Regions from separate parts of the Homo sapiens genome. Here region 1 is linked to region 2. The links are contacts of gene promoters, found by promoter capture Hi-C in human tissues and cell types (Jung and others, 2019). All regions are on one chromosome and are shown on one strand. The core of a region is centred on a gene start or on the middle of the fragment in contact, and the rest is flanking DNA. Distances in the headings are between cores, read along the strand shown.

Region 1 (3,649 bases), core at 878-3,377, 52 kb after region 2:
CCTATGTGCTTTGCTATTTTATTATGTAAGAAGGAAAAGCACCTAAAATGTGAGCGTTAGTGAATGAAAGGTGATTGTGTGACGATACCTCCAAACTTACACCAGCAAAAGAGAGGAAATAAAAGTTAAGTTCTCCACATGTCCTTTTTACTAGAGAATCCCAAATCACTGTGACTCAGCACCTGTACTTTGTGGTCATTTGTACCTGATACTAATTCTATTGTGACTCAGACGTTGCTCCAAACAAGTTTCCTTGTCACATCTCGCCACTGTTGTTAGGAAAACACGTTCAATGCAGGGGAACGTATTTGTTATGCTAGAAGCAAAGAGGGAGAGAGCGAGTGCACAGCAGAAGCAGGTAGTCATCCAGTAGAGATCAAAGTTCCCTTGCAAAGGGAATTTGTCATTGGTGCACACTCCCTTATTTAAGCTTTTGCTGATTCATCGTGCACTCATCAAAGCTGCACTGAGCTAATATTTAGAAATTCATTTGCTATAGAAGCAAACTCCAACATCAAATCCTTAAGTATGTGACTTGATCTATTCATACCTGGGTGTATACTAGTCCTGAGTTTAGGCACATATACCCACCTACACACAGCAGTGCTGAAAAAGCGTGACTGTAAAAAACTGGGGTGATAACTGGACAATGAAGTGAGGTCAATGAAGGGTTATTTTATATAGGAAATAACCCACAGATTGGCCACAAATCTCCTCTGCATTGACATTCATATGTATACATACACATTCTCACATGAAAACTCTTTTAAAAAAACTTTAAATTAGGGAAATTGTTGAAATTTGAACTAAGATGATAGTGAACAAGAAGCCCACAGAATATTAATAATTATCTTAATTTTCTTTCTTATTATTCAAAGTATATGCTCTAAAACTGTACTGAGGTACATCAAGTGCACAAATAGTAGTATGGAGTTGATGTTTTTTTTCCATATACATGTACCTATGTTACCACCATCTAATTCAAGATAGAGGATATCTCTGATCTCTTAGCTGGAGAAGACCGCCTCATGCCACTTTCCAGTAAATATCTCCCCATAGAGTTAATAGTATTCTGACCTCAATCACCGTAATTCATTTTGTCTGTTCTTGAAATGTATATAATTTAAATCATACAGTAAGATACATATATTTAATTTTTAAAAATACATTTAAAATGTACAAAAGCCATGCCTCACTCCTGGCTCTGATCCTCAGCCACCTGTTTTCTCTACCCAAAGGCAACCAATGATACTACCTTTCTTTTTTTTTTTTTAGATGGGGTTTCTCCCTGTTGCCCAGGCTGGAGTGCAGCGGTGCAATCATAGCTCACTGCAGCCTCACACTCCTGGGCTCAAGCCATCCTATTGCCTCAGCCTCCTGAGTAGCAGGGACTGCAGGTACACACTACCACAACCAGCTAATTTTTAACTTTTTTATTTGGACAGAGTCTCACTTTGCTGCCCAGGCTAGGTATCACCTTTTTGTTCATCTCTACAGAAATATTTACTCATATACACAAAAATGCATATGCATATACATAGTTTTCTTCTCTTGAGATCACTTTTGCAAAAATTATAACAATCAGGAAATTATTACAGTGAATGAGATCTGAACTAACCAACCCCCATCTAGCCTTTAACCTCCAAACTGGCCTTAATTATTCCTGGGCTTATGCCAAGATAACTTTGGGAGACATTTAGTTTAGAGTTTAAATGGTAATAGTGCTTCCCCAAAATTATACCACTTTGTAAAGCTAAGGAAAGCTAATCCATCCACCAGGTTATTAGGATGAGAGGAGCCTGAATTCTGCTAAGGTGTAGACTTAAACGATTACCAGCCATTAGTCTGGAGGTCTCAAAAATTGCAACTCCCCTAATTACTCCCGCCGATAACATCACTATTATAGAACCTAAGATTGGCCTTTTGAGATGTCTTTTCAGGTTTCTGCATTTCTGACGACCAATGAACCAACGTCTCCACCCAGGCCTGCCAAACCCCACTAGCCAGTCCTGTGGCCCTACCCAGAAGCAGACTCCCTGGCTCCCCAAACCACCCTTGAAAAACTCTAGCCTCCAAATTTTCAGGGAGATTGATTTGAGTAATAACTCCATCTCCCACGTGGCATGGCTGGCCTCGTGTCAATTAAATTTTATTGCAATGACTTGGCCTTGGTGGATTGATTTTGTCTGTGCAGTGGGCAGGAAGAAACTATTGGGTGGTTACACTCTCACACAAGTTTGGAACACTACTGAAAATTTAAAAAATTAGCTGGGTGGGTGTGGTGGCATGCTCCTGTAGTCCCAGCTACTTGGGAGGCAGAGGCAGGAGGATCCCTTGAGCCCAGCAGGTCGAGGCTACAGTGAGCTATGACTGTGCACTGCAATCTAGCCTGGGCAACAAAGTGAGACCCTGTCTATAAATAAATAAATTTAAATAAATGAGAAAAAAAAGGTAGTGACATACTATAGCATTTAGGAATATGTTTAGCTACAAATAACAGAAACTCAAAAACAGTGGCTTAAACAGTAAGTTTGCCCCACGAAACAAGAAGTCTGGGGCAGTCCAAGGAGGTTCAACAGGCTGCTGTTTCTGTTTTTTTACCTCCACCACCCTTAGAGTGAGGCTTTTGTCTTAATGCTTATTACTTCTTTGTTGCAAGATAGCTGCTGCATCTCCAGGTATTACATCTGTATTCAAGACAGGGAGAAGAAGAAAGCGGGAGTTGGGAAGGGGAGAGACCTGTGTTAGGAAACCAAAAGCTTTCACAGAAACCCTCTATTTCTATCTCATGGGATCATACTCCTGAATCATACGGCCCCTCCAGCTGCACAACACTGTGGTGAAGCAAATATTTTTAGTTTAGCCTTTATTTTTTAGAAAGAAAGGGGATGAGAATTGGCATGAGCAGATATAAGGATAGCCTCAGCCTCACATGATATTATGACTGTATTATTTGTTAAATATTGAGAAAGTTATGGAATACTGAAAAATTTTAGTTTTGGATAAATACCCATTCACATTAATTTTTGCTGTCCTTACTACTACTTTGAGAAAAAAGGTAAACTAAAGAACTTCTAAAATTTCTTCTCATATTGTTATTGTACACAGGTCCATCTTTTTAAATCCACAATTGCAAAATATAAAAACAAAATAAAGAAAACTATGAAAACAGAAAAGTTTATGTAACTGATTTTGTGACAAAAACCTGATGTGACCCAAGGAGAGGCTATTTGAAGTCTTCGTTCATATGATTTAGTGTAAATTGTTTATATGTTGCAGAAATATTCATGTTTGATTAAAGAGTACTGCCCCAGACCCTACTTGGGATATTACATAATAAATAGGATCTTCTAACTTTGAAAAGTTCTGAATTCTCAAACACCTCTAAACCCAATGGTTTAAATAGGGAATTGAAGAACTGTGGTTAGAAAGATGACTTCAATGTAAATATACAATTTGGCAGAAAGTTTAGGGGAATCATATAAACAACTAAATGAATGCAGGCAGAAATGAAAAAAGAAATCCTGAAACTTTAAGAATCGGGGATAATATCAGATAAGTATGTTGCTTAAATTTGACTAATTTAAACCATTTTTATAAATTAGTCACTCAGCATGAAGACATCAAAAATTCTTCCTAAATTCTAAAC
Region 2 (3,848 bases), core at 1,147-3,646:
CTGGATGTTCCTTGCTTGGGCATCTCCAACCTGGCACTAGGCTTCATCAAAGCCAAGAGAGAAAGTCTGCTGTTAGGACAGATAAAAATCCCTGCCTTCATGGAGCTTACATTTGAACTGGCTGTATGGCAGAGAGTATCAGGAGGTTGGTGGAAGAGAGACAGGCACTAGCAATAGAAACAAATCTAAATTCCATTAAGGTTACATCCCCAAATTACGGAATGTTCATTCTAAAATGCCAATCTCATCATGACCCTCTTTTTTATTAAATATGCTCCAATTGGTAGACTCATTGCTTTAAAGACAAAGACAAAATTTCTTAATATTCACTACAACCTACTGTCCCATGCTGTGTTTCCAGTGTATCTACCATAGCAGTAGTCGAATGGTTACACAGACTAGCTACTCTGAAAATGATTTTTAAAGTGTCTTAGATTTTCCATTTTTTGCCTTTTATTCTTCCACTTGTGTTCATATCTTAACATTATATTATATTGAAAGGAGCATCTCAGTGATGTTCCAGTAAAACTGGAATTAATAGTCTTGAACCCTTGAAGAAGATAATATTGGTACCAACATCTTCTTGAAGGCCCTTTCCATCATTATATCATCATTATCATAAATACTGATATAAGGCTGACTTTTATTACAATTAAAACGGGATTGAAGGCCAAGGCAGAAAGATCACTTGAGACCAGGAATTTGAGACCAGCTTGGACAACATACTGAGATCCTGTCTCTACAAAAAACAAACAAACAAACAAACAAAGATGGAAGGTTCTGACCCTTTACCTGAGTCAAGGAGGTGGGACCAAGTAGAATTTCTTAGAAGCAAACCATAATAGAAGCTTCTTTGATTTGCTCCTGGCGCTTTCTGTGCTGGAGATCTATGGGTAGAAGCAAAGAATTAAAAAAAAAATCCAAATAGTTTTTCCTACTAAAAAATTGGTGGGAATTCCAGCAGAAGTAGTCAATAGACAGATGCTATCCAGTGAATTGAGAGTCTCAGGTGAACTGGAGACTGGCACATATAGAATCAGAGCCTTAGAGTTGGAAAGATTTCAGAGATGATGCAGTGCAAGCCCCCAGCCATAGACAGAGTCCCTTCAATGTCACACCAGTCCTGCAACTTCTTTTACTTCCACCCTTCTAATTATAGAGAACTGGCTCTTTTACAAGGCTGCCATTTTCATCATTAGAGCCCAGCTGTTATCTGCACTCTTCTTCTTTATTTTAAGGTATTTCCCCGGAATTACTGCACATTAAAATTTTTGACATTTTAGGCTACAGAAATTTTGACTGAATCCTCTTGCTGTACAACAGCCCCCACAACACTTGCTCTCAGGTGTCTCACTTATCTTAAAAGTCCTCTCTTTGTCATACTTCTCTTCAGATGTTTCCAACATGCACCGCCTCTGAAGTTTTTTTGTTCCAGCCATCTCTGTAGGATGAAGAGTAAGTTCTCAGAGTGCCAAGATAGCAAAGTGATGCTTAACACATCATCTGACTAATGAAGAATAATTAGAACATTTATTTTCCATGATCTATTTTTCTATTATTGTAGCTTAATATCATGTTAACTTTTTAAGCAACCATTTCACACTCTTGGTGCCCATTAAAATTTGTAGTCAATTATAATCATTGAATTTTTTTTCTCATGAAGTGTTGCCAAAGTAGATATTTCCCAACCTGCATGTGTGCTAGAGTGTGTGTTAATCTCAGACCTCTCTGTGATCACTGGAAAATCGCTGGCCATAAACCTCACTTTATTAAACTCTAAAATGAGCCTAATAATGTTAGAACCACATGTGAGGTGCTGTAGAAAGTACCATATCTGGTAGATACGTGCTCCTCTTATAAAGAATAGGCTATTTATAACCACTATCTTCTCAAAAGACCGTAGGTGACCAGGCTAATTACCTTTCCAAAAACTAATTTTTAATCCACAGCCTTCCCTTCTCCTTACTCTACTAGAATCCCTGCTTCCAACAATTAAACATCCATCGAATTAATTTTCTTTCCTCTCACACAGGTTGATTGAGCTCTTGACTTTCTTTCTTTCTTTCTTTCTTTCTCTTTCTTTCTTTCCTTCCTTCCTTCCTTCCTTCCTTCCTTCCTTCCTTCCTTCCTTCTTTCTTTCTTTCTTTCTTTCTTTCTTTCTTTCTTTCTTTCCTTCTTTCTTTCTTTTCTTTTCTTTTCTTTTCTTTTTCATTTTGAGCAGCTGGTCAGTTCAAGAAACCCAACCCCTCTCCACCAACCGGAGCCCCGCCCCCTGCCCCCGGCTGGCTGGAGAGTTGAAGGCCAAAGACGGAGAGGAGGGCGCTCGCTGCTCTGCTCCCGGGCCAAAGCGCAGGCTCGGCCTGCCTTATCCAGTGGGACGGCAAAGGGTCACTCTAAAAATTGCTGCAGCCGGGTCTTGTCAGGTGGCTGCTGGTGGCTCCCCACCGGATTTTCCTTCTCCCTCTCTCTATCTCCACAGATCCCTTCCCAAGAGGAGTCTCCTGCTAAAACTTCATCATCTCAAGTTGACCTGCCACTTCACCCAAGGAGGGTAAGGAGCTGGGACCAGAGTCGCCAATTCCTGCCTTCTAGATCCTGGGGTGTGTGTGGATGTGTGGGTGGGAGAGGGTGGGCTGAGTGTTTGTGGTTGTAGAGCTATTTTACTGAAGGGAGTCTACAGCTGGGTCAGGTGGTTCATGTCCCTAATCTGAAGTTGGGAGACAGAAAACATTTTTTTGAAATCTGAGAAATGTAACGTGTTAGGAGAACTTCACGGTAACAAAATGCATGACAATGATGCCCTACAAATGTAAAACCACCTGTAATTTCTAACAAAAATTCTAAATCTCTAAAGCTTAAGATATATTTTTCTTTCACTACTTTATAGAGAAGGAGAAGGAGAGAAAATTCTTAGGCTTTGTTCACAAAGTTTAGAATTCTACCTTTATTTTTATCAAGAATCATTTTAACATTTGTTACTGATCAGTTTGGATGAAATGTTACCAGTTTTAACTAAATCTGTAGCACAAAACTCAGACAACTCTGAATTCCCAGAAATATAACCTATTGATGAAATGGAAATATCCTTCCTAAAAAAAAAAAAAAATTTGTTATTTGGCTAAAAAATAGGTTTTTGTCTTAAATGTGCACATATCATTATGCTGACATATATTTTATATTAAAAATCATGTTGGAAGTGTAATGGTGAAGTGGAAACCACCCCCCTACACCCCACCCCGAGGTTGGACTTAAAATGGCAAGCCACAGAAGCCAGGAGGGTTTCTATTCCTGGAGGTAGGGCTGATGAGCCCCGACAGATGCAGCGATAGGAATGTGGCCAGGACAGGGAGCAGGCGCAGCTGATTCGCCCCTTTGGCAAAAAGACATTCTGGGATCCCAGTTCATACTGGCATGAGAGTGACAGTGACACTTTAGCACACATGGCTTTCCAGTTTACCCTGTTGTGGACTCCCAGGAAGCATGGGTGCAGGGCAGTGGGAAGGAAAATGTTCTCAAATATGAAGTAACAACTCTTTTCTATAACCAGTTCTGGGGGTCTTCATCTGGGATCAGCTGGGGCCAGGAAGAATTTAAGTGCAATACTTTCACATGGACTTGCCCACTTACAGACAAGGGTCCAATTATGTACCATTGCTTGGCAGCATTATTCTCAGTCCAGTCATTTTGGATCTATTTCGGGTTATGGATCTCATGAAAACGCTGAGCCCAGTGTGTGGAAAGTACACATAAACATATGCACACAGTATGTTTCAGACTATTCCGCAGGACTCATGGACTCACCTGATACCCAGCCCTGATCAGGAATGCCAGATACAAGTCAGGTCATC

The links. The method cuts DNA at HindIII sites, captures the fragments that hold promoters and counts their contacts. A contact is called where the count stands out against the background at its distance.
Region 1: a fragment that was not itself captured here is called in contact with the fragment with the promoter of KLHL31 in region 2 in 1 of the 25 tissues and cell types used here (hippocampus).

The regions. Positions count from the first base shown.
Region 1 is chr6:53,612,585-53,616,233 of GRCh38, reverse strand. No RefSeq gene overlaps it. Among named protein-coding and RNA genes, the nearest start is that of LINC01564, 14 kb to the left of the region's middle. RefSeq lists an enhancer at 1-823. The HindIII fragment of the contact is 4,534 bases long and covers 1-3,649 here.
Region 2 is chr6:53,664,304-53,668,151 of GRCh38, reverse strand. KLHL31 (kelch like family member 31) reads left to right here and starts at 2,396. Exons shown (of 3, transcript NM_001003760.5): 1 at 2,396-2,551. The HindIII fragment of the contact is 4,897 bases long and covers 1-3,848 here.